Regions from separate parts of the Homo sapiens genome. Here regions 2 and 3 are each linked to region 1. The links are contacts of gene promoters, found by promoter capture Hi-C in human tissues and cell types (Jung and others, 2019). All regions are on one chromosome and are shown on one strand. Each heading gives the region's core, a stretch centred on a gene start or on the middle of the fragment in contact. The rest is flanking DNA. Distances are from core to core; before and after follow the strand shown. Region 1 holds the start of GEM (GTP binding protein overexpressed in skeletal muscle). Region 2 has its middle 130 kb from the start of PDP1. Region 3 overlaps RAD54B (RAD54 homolog B).

Region 1 (4,682 bases), core at 1,331-3,830:
GTGGAAGCAAACTGATCAAGCCATCCTAACAGCTTTTCCAACTGGCTTGTTTTAGGTATAACCATGGAAAAAGGCTGTGTCTATACTGAGTTCCGGGAAGAATGTTCAAGTCAGAGTCAGCAGAAGTCAAGTGGGGCGCTGACCCTCTGGCTCTGCCCTCTCTAATCAGCCTTCCCCAACCCATTTAGAATTGGAATCTGAAGAATTCCCTTTCTGGCCCAGGATCAACAGATTTTGGTCCTGTCTACAAGCATTTTCATTTTCTTGCCCGAAAGCCTGTGCTTGGGCTTTTCTAGAGACTCAGCTCCCCCATCAATTGTCCAAAATGCCTAACTTCAGCTCCCAACTCTGTGGGTAAATAAGTCACCCACCCTCACTCTTTCTTCCTGGGCCACCCCTGGTGGAAAGAAGCCCACTGGGGCTGGGACACCTACCTCCCAGCACCTCGCAGTCGCTGTCCATGCTGTCATGCACACCTGCAAAGATGTTGGCCAGAGTGGACTTGCCCACCCCCTGCTCCCCTATGAGCACCACTCGGTAGTAGGTGTTCCCTGACTCAGAGGAGATGACTGAGTCTGTGGAGTCAGAGGACCAGCTTCGGCGGCAGTGGTCCTCAGGGGTAGCAGAATGGCGGTTGCGGTGGCTGTACTGGTGGGGCTCTTTCTGGACCATCAGATGCCTGCCATCAGCTGGGATGCTCCAGCGCTGCTGCTGTGGCTGCATGCCCACAGTGCCCTGGCGCATGGTGACATTATTCAGAGTCATCGTTGAGTCCTGGGGAGCAAAGCAGCCAAGATGGCAGCATTAGTAAGCATGAGTGAGAGCTCCGCTCAAATACATGGTCAGTCATCAGTAATATTTTATTAGATGAGATGAGAAGCAAGTATCCCTAACATAAAGACCACCAATTAAACAGTCCCCCAAACCCCAACAAGACAGGCTTTCAACTGGACACACACATGCTGCCCACACTGTCAGTAACCAGCTCCTCAGGCAGACTATCATTTGCATGGGAAAACAAATACGGTTAACATCACCCACTGCCCATGGGCTTCCCCCTTCCTCAAAGCAGACTTGGATGAAAGAAGAGCTGCACTCAGAGCTGGCACAAAGGCAGCTGGAAAGAACCAGCAGACTCCAAAGATGGCTTGAAAAGCAACAAGTTAATGTTGCTGGGGACCAGCTGGTCAGGTTAGCTGCTCTTGTCTAAACTTGGCTCTTAATTGCACCAGTGTCCAGCAGGTTTTGTGCCTCAGTGGGAAACACGTGGCAATGACATCACCCTCCCCTCCCCTGCCCACTGCAACCCTGGCTGGACTGGACAGGCACTTATTGGAACTTCCATGTTTAGTAAAGTTGCCTTGATGCTCTCCAGCTGCCTGGAGAGCATCCACCTGCCATTATTGGGGGTAGGGGGGAAATTTTCTGTTTAAAGTTTATGCCTCAGCTGTGCCCTCTTACCCACAGATACCACTTTTAAAACATCCCGGCTCCAAACCTAGACACCCTGGCAGAGAAATGACCTGCTCATGTTCAGACCTATGAAATTTGCAGAGAAAGTGCCTCATTCTTAAAAAACCACATCCATTCTCAAGAGTTCTTTAATTCAACTCAGATTCCTTTTTTGAGTCAGGGTCTTGCTCTGTCACCCAGGCTGGAGTGCAGTGGCACGATCATAGCTCACTGTAGCTAGCCTCCAACTGCCAGGCTCAAGAGATCCTCCACTTCAGCCTCCCAAGTAGCTGGGACTACAGACCTGCACTACCACGTCCACTAGTTTTTTTATTTTTATTTTTATTTTTTGGTAGAGACAGTGGCCTCACTATGTTGCCCAGGCTGGTCTCGAACTCCTGGGGTCAAGTGATCCTCCTGCCTCGGCTTCCGAAAGTGCTGAGATCACAGGCCTGAGCCACCATTCTCAGATCCCCTTCTTGAAGCAAATCAGAAGGCTGAAGACTCCCCTAAATGATATTCAACAACTTCTCTACAACTTTCCCTTTGCAGACTGCCTCCCCTAGCCGGGAGGTCTGTTTTTCCGGCTACTGGTGATAAAGTATAAGTACTTACGTTGCAATCAGCAAGATGCACAAACACTCCTCTCCCACCCTCACCCCCACACTCCGTACCCCAACATCTCGCCACTAACCAGGACGACCAGCCGGTTTTTTAGTCTCAAAAGCAGCACCTCAGTTGGCAGACTTACATTCAAACAACAAATACATAAAGCATCATTAAGGGCTGCCCTCTCTGACCACTCGATCTGTAGAGGGAGGTGACCCTTCTACCGAATTGAACTAAGGAACCTGCTGATGAGAAGCGACATCCTTTGCACTTGAAGCTCTGACCCCTACCAGAAAATCCCAGTGCTGAGCGCACGTTCCAGGGGTTCTTTTCTCAACTTCGAAAGTTCTGCGGGCTGGGAAACTCCCACTCTCTCCCTTCTCCGTCTCGGGCCGTCCCCCTTACTTGGCTCGGCCGGATCGGCGTCGGGGCGTCAGCGTATCGCGTGGGTCCGCGCTGGGATACCCGGGCCAACGAGCGGGGAGTGCTGCGCTGTGCCCGCCGTCCTTGCCCGCCGCCTGCAGCCGCCGCGGCCGGGCGGTTTATAACCAGCCCAGCCGACCCGCCGCGGGGCTTTTCCGTGACGTCAGCGCCCCCGCCGGGAGGGGGCGGCTCTGCAGCAAACTCGGAGTTGCAGCCACTTGGCTAAATCAGTTACTCGCAGTCATGTGACCCCTTCTCTCTCCATTTAAAAAATAATGACAGTTCAATCCTGGGCCTCCTTTATTTTGTTTTATTTTCTTTTTACCAGATGAACACAGGAAAATGGAAAAATACACTAAGTGACACTTAATCGTCCTTCCCAGCAAAGCACTTGCGAGCTGTCGGGATAAAGGATGGAAGGGAGAGGCAGGTTTGAGTTGAGAACTCAGTTTTGCCAAGAAAACAGAGATCAACCTGGAATGCGCAGAGACTTTAGCCTCCAGGATGAGACTGCAGCCACCTTGAATAGCCAAGGCTTGTTTTAACCACATCTTCTGCAACGAAGACAGCCTTGTCACCTTCTTCTGGATAGGGGGAAGCAGATGGAGCCCCACAAGGCTTTGTTTCCCTTCTCTGGCAAGGACCCAGAGAGAAGGGGCCAGAAAGAGGTGAGGAAAGAGGACAAGACCTTGAAAAGGGCAGTTTGGAAAAACAATTTAATTGAGGATCCAAGCAGATTGTGCTAAATATTGCTGGCCCTCCTGCTCTGGGCCAGAATGCTGAGGCTCCTCAATCAGGGAATTTAATCAGCATCCCAATCAGCAGCATCTCTGTACCAGGCTCCCTGGCAAGGCTACGCCTTGGGCATGAGCCAATACAGCCTGGCCATGGGGAGGAGCACTGAGACCAACACCCCTGTAAGAGACTCCTGTGAACAAAGGGCACAGGATAATAACTACTACTACCATTTATTAAGTACCTCTGAGGACCTCTGCTTAGTAGGTACTGTTAGGCCTCCTGGGACCTTAATCCTTACTATACTTCTGCAAGGTGGCTCTATTTCTACCCTCATTGTATGGAGGAGGAAGATAACATAGGGCCAGAGAATTTGCCCAAGGTCACACCGCTGGTATAAGTGGCAGGGTCAGGACTCAAAGCCTGGTTTTCCTGAGTCTCTGCACTGCACCACCAAGTGAAGGATTTCAATGACCTCTTTCTGGGGACATGGGTATTTCCCAGATGCTGTGTTTAGAGATGATGCTGGCCTCTCCAACATATCTGCTTTTCCAGCCAGCTTCAACTCTGGGTTGGCTGGTGGCTCCGGGAAGCAGCCAAAGGCACCAGCATCTATTGAAGCAGCTGGACTCTGCTGTGATTAGAGTCAATTCACAGTTATCCTGCAGGCATTTATCTGCTTTGAGAATTAGCTACATGACCAGCTGCTGAGACCTGCCAGGTCCCAAGCTAGCAAAGGTGGAATCCATAGAGTAATGAAAACTTAGAATTCCTTTAGTCTCAGGTGTTGTGGCCCCAATCTCCTACTTATCTTATACATAAGAAACCTGAGACCCAGAGAGGAGATGACCGCTTAGGACATGACAGAACTGGAACTACAACCTGGGGATCATAATTCTCTGGATGCCCTTTGCTTCTGTCAAGTTTTTCTTCTGGGTTTCGCTGACAGGAAGTGGCTACAGATGTGGGGAAAGGAAAAGGAGAGGAGATGGGGGGTGGGGGAGATCATCTCCAAGAGTATATCACTGACTCCATTCTAAAACACATGTAATTGATGAATAATCCATGTTTCAAAATGATCCATGCTTTTTCCATACTGACACTCCTACTCTGTCAACTGGTCTCAACAGAAACATCATAGGAGTAAAAACTAAGAAGAAATCAGTTTATAAGCATATGATATAGTTCCTCAGTTCTACTTTTGCCGATTGATAAGAATCTAATACTTCACATTTATAAAAACCTAATTCTGGCCAGGCACAGTGGCTCACGCCTGTAATCCTAGCACTTTGGGAGGCTGAGGTGGGTGGATCACGAGGTCAGGAGTTCAAGACCAGCCTGGCCAACGTAATGAAACCCTGTCTCTACTAAAAATACAAAAAAATAGCCGGGCATGGTGGTGGATGCCTGTAATCCCAGCTACTCAGGAGGCTGAGGCGGGAGAATCGCTTGAACCTGGGAGG
Region 2 (4,682 bases), core at 587-3,086, 220 kb before region 1:
TCCTTGACGACCTGCTCAAAAGACATCTACAAAGCAAAGCTTCTTAAAAGGGATTTTGACACCAGGAGCTTGTGTTTTGACACTGGAATGTGCCTGGAAAACAATTCTTGGGCCCCTTTGATGCCTGGTGCTATCTAACCCACAGTGAGAAGGCTGTGAAGAGGAGGGCGCAAAATAAAGCCCAAGTGGTCCTCACAGCGCAGCCCCTGCAGCCCCTGATGGTGGGGAAACATCAGTCACCTGAGGAATTAACGAACATGCCGGTTAAAATGCTCCCACCTCAGAGATTCTGATTCAGTAGCTCTGGGGAAGGATCTGCACATCCACATTTAAAGAAATTTCTGACGCTGATGGTTTGGAGACCTCCCTTTGAGAAGCACTGCCGTATGTTCTGAAGGAAGAGAACCAACAGCATGGTGATGGACTAGGCTCAGAGGGAGGCCTCCGCTGGGAACCTGACTTGGGTAGATTTGCCCCAGGACTTCAGGAAGGGGAGACCTGGTGCCCAGCTGCATTCCTCGTTGAGTTGTGTCATTCCATTCTTACTAAAGCCTTTGGCAAAGTTTTGTGAACCTGCCCTGGGAAGCAGCTGGCATGGTGTGGAGGTAGTTGGCTGGCAGGAAGTGTAGAGAGGACAAGCCAGGGCAGGGTTTGGTGTAAGTGGTGAGAGGCACCCGCCATGCTGTGTGAGTAGATCCATCCCTTGGACTCTGGCACTATCTGGGAGCATACACGACATCCTGCTGTCAGGGCACAGTGACTCAAGGCCAGGGTGACAAAGGCCAAGAAGTAGGACAAGAGGACAAAGAGACACACAGCTACACCTGGGAGATGTGGGCATCAGAAACTTGTTCACTTTCTGAATCACCCTCCTCATGACCACTGGACCAAACCTGCCTTCCCTTCTCCCCGCTTAGGCATGGATCCTTTCCCAGATGGGGCCTCACCTTTCCTTCACTTTCCAAGAAGGCCTGGTCTCCTCTGAGTCCCAGTAATGAACCAGGGTGGTTGGTCAGAAGCTAGGATGATCACTATGTGTGTGTTTTTTTAAGTATATGCCCATTTTCTAAAAAAATGGAGGCAGAATTCACGTGAAATTAACCATTTTAAAATATGTAATTTGTTATGTTAGCATTTAGTACATTTGCAATGTTATGCAACCATTAACACTATCTAGTTCTAAAACTTTTTTCCTTTTAAATTGACTGCTTTTAGAGTAGTTTCAGGTTGTCAGTAAAATGGAGCAGAAAGTACAAAGAATTCCCACGTACACCCTGCCTCCATCACACAACCCCATCACCATGACACATTTGTTACAGTCAGTGAACTGACATTGACATGTCATTATCACCCAGACTCCAGCGTTCACATTAGGGTTCACTGTTGGTGTTATACACTCCATGGGTTTGCACAAGAGATGACGTGTATCTATTACAGTAGCATACAGAATAGTTTCACTGCCCTAAAAATCCTCCAGACCTCTGCCTATTCATCCCTTCTTCCTCTCTAACCTCTGGCAGCCACTGATCTTTTTACTGTCTCCATAGTTTTCACTTTCCGGAATGTCATATAGTTGGCAGCATGCATTACGTAGCCTTTTCAGATTAGCATCTTTCACTGAGTAATATGCATTTAAGTTGCCTTCATTTTTTTATGGCTTGATAACACATTTCTTTCTAGCACTGAATTATATACTATTGTTTGGATGTCACATCGTTTATTTGTTGAGAGACTGAATATGCAAATGGACAATGGCCAGACCATATATAAAACTAGAACTTTAACTCACAATCTGCAGCAATCTGCCTGGGAGACCAACCCTTTTATTTATAATAAACAACCCAGGAAGCCAGCCTGATATAAGTCCAACTTGCAGGAAGTGAGATTGTTATCTCTAGTGACAATTCAGGAGCTAAATAATAACCTCCGTAACAATCAGCCCCAAATGGCCAGAACTTGATTAATAACTGACGGCTTCCCTAATTTTTGTCCCCTCTTCCAATTTCAACTAGAGAAAGCCAAATATTCACCCCTAACCAATCATATACAATGCTCTGCTTCTAGTTAGCCTACCTGTAGCTTCCTAACTCCAACAGCCTCCCAACAGGGCACATCCGAAGCCTTCCCTTTTCTCCACTATCAAGCTTCCCCACTCTTTCCTGCCTTTGAGTCTCTGCCAAAATGCAAGCGGCAGTGGTGGATTCCCTTGCTATAGCAAGTTCAGAATAAATAGCTATGATGGTTGATTGTATATGTCAACTTGACTGGGCTAAGAGACAGCCAGATTGCTGGAAAAACATTATTTCTGGGTAACCTGAGAGGGTGCTTCTGGAAGAAAGGAGCATTTGAATTGGCCACTGAGTGAAGAAGATCATCCTCCCCAGTGCAGGTAGTCATCATCCAAACTGTTGAGGGCCTAAATAGAACAAAAGGTGGAGGAAGGGCGAATTTGTTCTCTCTGATCTGGAACATCCATATTCTCCTCCCCTGGGACATCAATGCTCCTGGTTCTCAGGCCTTCATCCTTGGACCAAGACTTCTACCGTGACCTCTGGGGTTCCCAGGCCTTAGGACTCAGATTGGGGCTTACGCCATTGGCTCCCCTGGTTCTCAGGCTTTCGAGTTTGGACCGAAACTACACCACTGACTTTCCTAAGCCTGCAGCTTGCACGTGGCAGATTATGGGACTTCTCAGCCTCCACAACTGCATGAGCCAATCCCTCATAATAATTCTCTTTTTATATATCTCTCTATATATATATCCTATTGGTTCTGTTTCTCTGGAGAATTCTGACTAATACAGTAGCCTGTGCTTTTCTCATTTGGTTGGTTTCCTATTTCCACATCATTCACATACTAAAGGACATCTTGTTTGCTGCTTCCAAGTTTTAATGGTAATGAATAAACCTGCTATAAACATCCTTGTACAGGTTTTTGTGTGGACATAAGTTTTTAGCTCACTTGGGTAAATAGGAAGGAGCACAATTGCTAGATTACCTGGTAAGAGGATGTCTCCTTTTGTAAGAAACTGTCAAACTAACTTCCAACATAGCCGTACCATTTTGCATTCTCGCCAGCAATGAATGAGAGTTCCTGTTGTTCCATGTCCTTTTGGTGCTGTCAGTATTCTGGAATTTTGGACATCCTAATAGTATAGTGGTATCTGATTGTTGCTTTAATTTGCACTTTCCTAATGACATATCATGTTGAGTATATTTTAATATATCTTCTTTGATGAGGTATCTGTTCAGGTCTTTTGCCCATTTTTTAATGGGGTTGTTTGTTAATATTTTTAAGTTTTAAGAGTTCTTTGTGTATTTTATACACAGTCCCTTATCAGATATGTCTTTTGCAGATATTTTCTCTCAATCTGTAGCTTGCCTCCTCATTCTCTTTATGGTGTCTTTCACAGAGAAGATAGTTTTCAACTTTAATAAATTCCATCTTGTCCATTTTTTTTCATGGATCATGCATTTGGTATTGTATCTAAAAAGTCATCTCCATACCCAAGGTCATCTAGATTTTCTTCTATCTAAAACATTTTCACCATCCCCAAAGGGCTATATGTTCTATGGGTTTTTTGCATACAATTTTCATATGTCCCCATTTGAGGAATAACATTCAGATTTCCCCCCACCTCGCCCCCAATGGGTTAAATTTTAGTTTCAGGGAGTAATGCACTTCTATGCTTTGTTTTATATGCTTTTTACAAACATGTGAAAGAGCATGCAAATTGCTTCTCAATTTCTGCCTGGGAAAATCTCAGCATGGATTGGGGAGTTCTACCAAATTTGAGTTGAGCAACTGTGTTCCAGGCCATAACCCAAATACATATATATATATATATATATATATATATATATATATATATATACATATATACATACATATATATACATATATACATATATGTATACATATATACATATATACATATATACATATATACATATATACGTATATACACACATATATACATATATACATATACGTATATGTATACATATATATACATATACGTATATACGTATATATATACGTATATATACGTATATATATGTGTGTATATATGTATATAGCCATTTGGACCCCTTTCCTACAGGATCCATGATAGTGAGAGTAGAGCATTATGAAAATGCTCTTTAAGGTTGAAATGTTTAAAATCCAAAGAAAAAGTAAAGTAGGCAAGAGAATCCCATCTAGTGTCATATCACGCTGGTAGTGTTTATTCTTTCATCAGTGGTAGAGAATGTGCCTGAAGCATTTTGTTTCTTTATGCTTCTGTTTTTGTTTTACCTATTTCTATTTGAGTCTGGATCTTGCTATTTCTGTGATATGTAGCATCCCTTAGAGGAAAGCAAATTAAAATTGAGTAAGAACCTCTGCTTTATGGCAGAGGTTCCTGTAGGAGGTCAAGGTGACATGGAGGTTGAGGCAGAACCTGTCTTCTCACATCTTTATAGAGAGGAGGGAACATCTATTCTACTCCCTGGAGGAAACAGTTCTAGTCCCTCTCCCAACCTCTCAATCCCTTCTCCTATGGGGGCAGTGATTTATCTAATTGCTAAGATGACAGTAGTTTGACATTTACTGGTCCCTGGATGCTCACGTTCTCTGTTGGGCAAGGATAATGAGTAAAATGCCCTTGCGTGCATGTGAGTTGCTCTCTTTCTTTCTTTTTT
Region 3 (4,682 bases), core at 1,391-3,890, 170 kb after region 1:
TTCACTGCTGAAATTACACCCACCCCATTCTACAACTTGGCTTAAAAATCCCTTCTCAACAAAACCCCAGCAAAAATAGAAATTCTTAAGTAACATACATATTAGAGATTTAATATAAATTTAATATGTATGCTTTAAGAATTGAGGTTTTATTTCCATGAATACTAAAATAACAATACTTATAAAATACATAAAATTTTAATTTTGTTCATTCTGATTTTTACTGTGAAAGAAATTTTTTCCAGAACAGGACATTCAAAATGAATTAAGACATGTCTTTAAATCACACAGCCAAAATATATAATAGCTTCAATGGAATACCTTATCTATTTTGCTGGAACAAAAATAGAGAGAGAATGGGGGTAATTGATGTAATTATCCTGATTTCACAACCTAACAATCTTTAAAGGCAATTTTAATGAAAGAAATGCTTCTAATATTTAAATCTAGAGAATGTTTTAGTGGATATTTACTTCTATCGAATAGCGGGATGGAAATTACACAAAGAAAAACTAAGTGCTGGTCTCTGCTCTGCCATAAATAGCTTTGTTACCCTAAGTAAGTCATTGAGTTCTCCCTGGACCTGTTTCATTACCCCTAAACTGCAGAGATGGAAAAAAAGTGTTCTCCAAATATCTTCCATCTCTAAAATCCTAGGATTTACTCCTTCAAAAGATAAAAGCATAAAAACCAATGTCATACAGACAAGCTTCTTGGTATTAGGTTAGTATAGCTCCTAAATTAGACTGACTTAAAAATCTCTAATTATAGCTTTCAAAGTTCTAACTAAAAATGTTGAAGACTCAGAACTTTGAAAGAATATGTGTTTGTATATGCATTTGTGTATATCTTAGTGATCAGAATAAAATATCTTTTGTAAGGTCAACAATTAAACTTAGGGAAAAAAAAAAGAAGACAATAAAAACTATAACCATGCCAACCAACCAGTAAATTTTAATATCTCAAAAGAAAATAATTAGAAAATTATATCTAAAAAGTTTTTCCATAATAGAGATTAACAACATTTTTCAAGAACGTGTATTCTGTTTCAGGATATTCCCAAATTAAAGTAATTTGGCCAAAATCAAAATTATCAAATTGCAAGATTGAAAAAAAAACTTAGAGACTGTTATATTCAGGTAGATCATGCCGTAAGCGAATTGCTTTCAGCTTCTCCACTTCAATTTTTGCTCTTAGTAGCTCTTCCTCTAGCTGCTGCCTTCTTTTCAATCCATCCCTCTTCTCCTGAACATACAATCCAAAATTTTTTTGATTTTCTAAAATTATCTGATGCTCCTCTTTCAACATTTGCAGGATCTGAGGATCATACCCTAATAGTGACCTAAAGTGTTCACCACTCTCATGCCGAAAAAAATCATCTCTCCTTGGAATAGAAGATGGAGACGATGTCATTCTCATATCAACAGAGGAAAGTGAAGGCGACAAGGATCTTTCCATAACATGTACTAATTCATGTTCTTCTCTTTGCTCTAAAGTATCACTCTGTTGAGAATTTAAAACCAGTGGAGGAGGTGGTTTAATGTCTTCTTCTTGCTTCACCTCCACTGTAATAGCAACAGGATGGTGATCCAACATTACCTGTAGTGAACTGGTACCAGCCTGTGCCTCCTCATCCAAGTTTGCACTATAGCACACAAAAAAGCATTATAATATGTAAATCAAATGAAGAAAAAGTGTATATTTATAGCATAATTTTAATTTAATGTACATTAAATGATAAAGCTTTAAAACTATAAAGTTACAAAATAAAAAAAAATCTTAAACACTTGAAATACATTAAAGTGACTAAGATTGGGATTTCAATAATACATACTCACAGATCTCCCCCATCCTTAACTTTAAAATTGTGCTTTAAAGGAGCAGGAAATTACAAATATTATAGAAGGCCAATGAAGAAAATAAAAAGAAAAGCCAGTTTTCATGTTGTCAAACAGACACCAATCTTTCCCACAACCCTAAGGTTTTCAAATGGTGTACAGAGCCATTTAATGCATTCTCAGTCTTGTTATCCCCATACCTTAGCCCTAGACCTCAGGCTTCTGCTCTCCTGGACTGATCTTAAAACCATGAAGGCCCATAACTTATAAAAGGACAGTGAAAGGCCATCTATGGGAGGTACTGATTTCTGCATTTGCCCAAAAAATAAAACATAAAGATTGTATATGGCTTTGGGATATGCTCAACTACTGGAGGTTATCCTAACTTTCTTATTTCAGATGCTTTTATCTGATAGGAAAAACTTCCGTTTTACCTATTCTGAACCATATGACTCAGATGCTGTTTAAGTCTTTCAATCACTGGTCAGGTAAAGTTCACAAGAGCAATGGTTTTAATCCACAACTGTATACTCAGTACCTAGCAGGTACTGTACTTAGAACCTAGTAGGTGCTCATTATGTGTTGAATGACTGAAAAAAAACAAACTAAATGATTTTTTAATGAAACATTTTTAATGGCCTATACAGATATATTAAAGGTTTATTAAATTTACACATAATTTCCACCAAATATGCATTCCCAATGGAGACAACTACAGCTTTAGCATAATTTAAGCTTCAGCATAACAAGTTATGATATTATAAATGCAATAAACCTTAAAATTCTGTTTTATAAACATAATTTTATGTATAACGTGAAGCTGTGAATTAAGAATATCTGCTCCTTGAGGTTGTTTTTTTTAATTTATGCTTCTGCCTAACTTAAAAATAAAAGTTATAAAGGGAAATTAGATCATTGAACATGAATGGAAATACTTTATTTAATATTATTTAGAGAAGATTTTACATATAATAAGAAACATAATTAAAAGAATACATTCTACATGGATGATTAAAATGCTGGAACAAGTTCAAGCAGAATGCATAGAAAAAGATTAAAACTACCCATACGTTACTTACTAATGCCATTAAATTGCCAGAAATATCAGATATTTATCTAAGAGACAAAATGAAACATATATAGTATATAATAAAAAATCTATTTGTAGGTTATATAAATTCATTTTTGTTCTTGTCTCTGTTTGTGTCATTTTATTATTTCCAAAAACAAAACAATTAATTATAAATGTAATTCAAAGTAGCAAGCTCTGCTTCTATTAATAGCTCTGCTAAAACCTGGAATGGGAAAAGGCTAAAATTGCATATGAAAATTAAGTTTTTAAAACCACATAATTACTATTTCAAATTAGTATGTAAAATAGAGAGTATAAACATAGACATAATACTACCAAGTAAATTAAAAATATGCCTCATATCTGGAACATTCCTTTCCATTTTAGCTAAAACATTACAACTAAGGCATAACAATATAAAAAGGGAGAAAAAAAGCTTTAGAGCAGGTCACAAAAATGACAGAGAAGGACTTGAGAATCAGAACTTTGAAGATCAGTTTACAAAAACACAAAATATAAACTGATATTAGGAAGAGGTAAAAATAAAGACATAAGTCAATGTGAGTTACAGAAAATAAATAGCCTTACAAAACAGGTATATATTTTTAAGTATGTTAACGCAAACACTAGTATTTTCCTTATTAAAAAGGAAGAGTTTGGTAAGATTAACAGGCATATTTATGTAGAAGTATAGTTAAGATTATAGAATAATTATAAACTTCTGAGATTATTAAGATTCAAGGATGATATCAATCAAATAAATATAAGCACATTAAATATATATATTAAAGAAATAAGCTAATACAGAGAAAATGTCAATGTAGACACAGTAACATAAGAATTTAAAAGGCATGTTTCTTATATTCTTCCCTTTAAAACCTAACAAATTGGTATTATTTAAGCCATAGGTATAGAAATGTACAAATCAACTCATTTTTATCAGAGAAATGTTCATATCCCAAAAGATTTTTTGTGTGTGAATATTGTAAATATTCACACACACAAATAGTCAAAATGTAACCAGATACTTGTATATTTATATATTATTTTTCTTCTACTCACTGTTATTTTTAAAATATGCAACTAACTAAAATTACAGTTTCTACATGTCGTTTTCAAATTATAAAAACCTATACCTACTAACCAAAGGGTACAGTTTTATACCTGCGATGCAAAAAACACTTTTCTCCATGGTTCAAGGGAGAGAAAATTCTGCATAAGTAGCACAGTATAAAACAATTTTACTGCGTAGTTTTCTGGATATCTAGCTATTGGGATTTCATCATTTGTCATCACAGTGAACATTTTAACCAGTGGCCCCAAGAATTAATCCACTGTGTATTCATGTCCTGGATTCCCACTGGTGATATTTTTTTTACTGTGCTATCAAGTAGAAATAAGCAGTATCTGGTAAGAAGCTAGGCTCAAAAATACTTTCCTAGTAAATTACCAAAATAACATATGCACTTGGCTACAAAGTGGTTTTTTTCTGCTTCTCTCCTAATTTCAAAGGGATTTCATAGTAATCAATAATTTGCTTATATAATGCCTCTTCCACCAATAGAAAAGCACATTGTGTAAAGCTTTGTTTGAAAGGCTCCTCAAACTAACAAGGAGTTTACAATTTGTTTAAATTACCCTAAATGGTTCAGAATAAGAATGTAGCTGCCATTTTTATATTTTGCCAGAGGTTACAATCTGAATTAGTGGCAAGATAATACTTTTGAAAATTCCAAGGCAAATAGTTACATAGAAGACAAGTTTAACCAAAA

What was found. The method cuts DNA at HindIII sites, captures the fragments that hold promoters and counts their contacts. A contact is called where the count stands out against the background at its distance.
Region 2: a contact is called between a fragment that was not itself captured here and the fragment with the promoter of GEM in region 1, in 4 of the 25 tissues and cell types used here (H1 embryonic stem cells, IMR-90 fibroblasts, mesenchymal stem cells and 1 more).
Region 3: a contact is called between a fragment that was not itself captured here and the fragment with the promoter of GEM in region 1, in 1 of the 25 tissues and cell types used here (hippocampus).

What each region holds. Positions count from the first base shown.
Region 1 is chr8:94,259,739-94,264,420 of GRCh38, forward strand. It overlaps GEM (GTP binding protein overexpressed in skeletal muscle), which reads right to left and starts at 2,581. Exons shown (of 5, transcript NM_005261.4): 1 at 2,352-2,581; 2 at 435-774. The coding sequence starts at 765. RefSeq lists silencers at 538-681, 1,823-1,892. The HindIII fragment of the contact is 10,611 bases long and covers 1-4,682 here.
Region 2 is chr8:94,045,370-94,050,051 of GRCh38, forward strand. No RefSeq gene overlaps it. Among named protein-coding and RNA genes, the nearest start is that of PDP1, 130 kb to the left of the region's middle. The HindIII fragment of the contact is 5,525 bases long and covers 1-4,599 here.
Region 3 is chr8:94,431,012-94,435,693 of GRCh38, forward strand. All of the region lies in intron 3 of RAD54B (RAD54 homolog B), which reads right to left. It overlaps FSBP (fibrinogen silencer binding protein), which reads right to left. Exons shown (of 2, transcript NM_001256141.2): 2 at 1-1,645. The coding sequence ends at 1,120. Among named protein-coding and RNA genes, the nearest start is that of FSBP, 3.6 kb to the right of the region's middle. RefSeq lists an enhancer at 3,789-4,289. The HindIII fragment of the contact is 5,994 bases long and covers 1-4,682 here.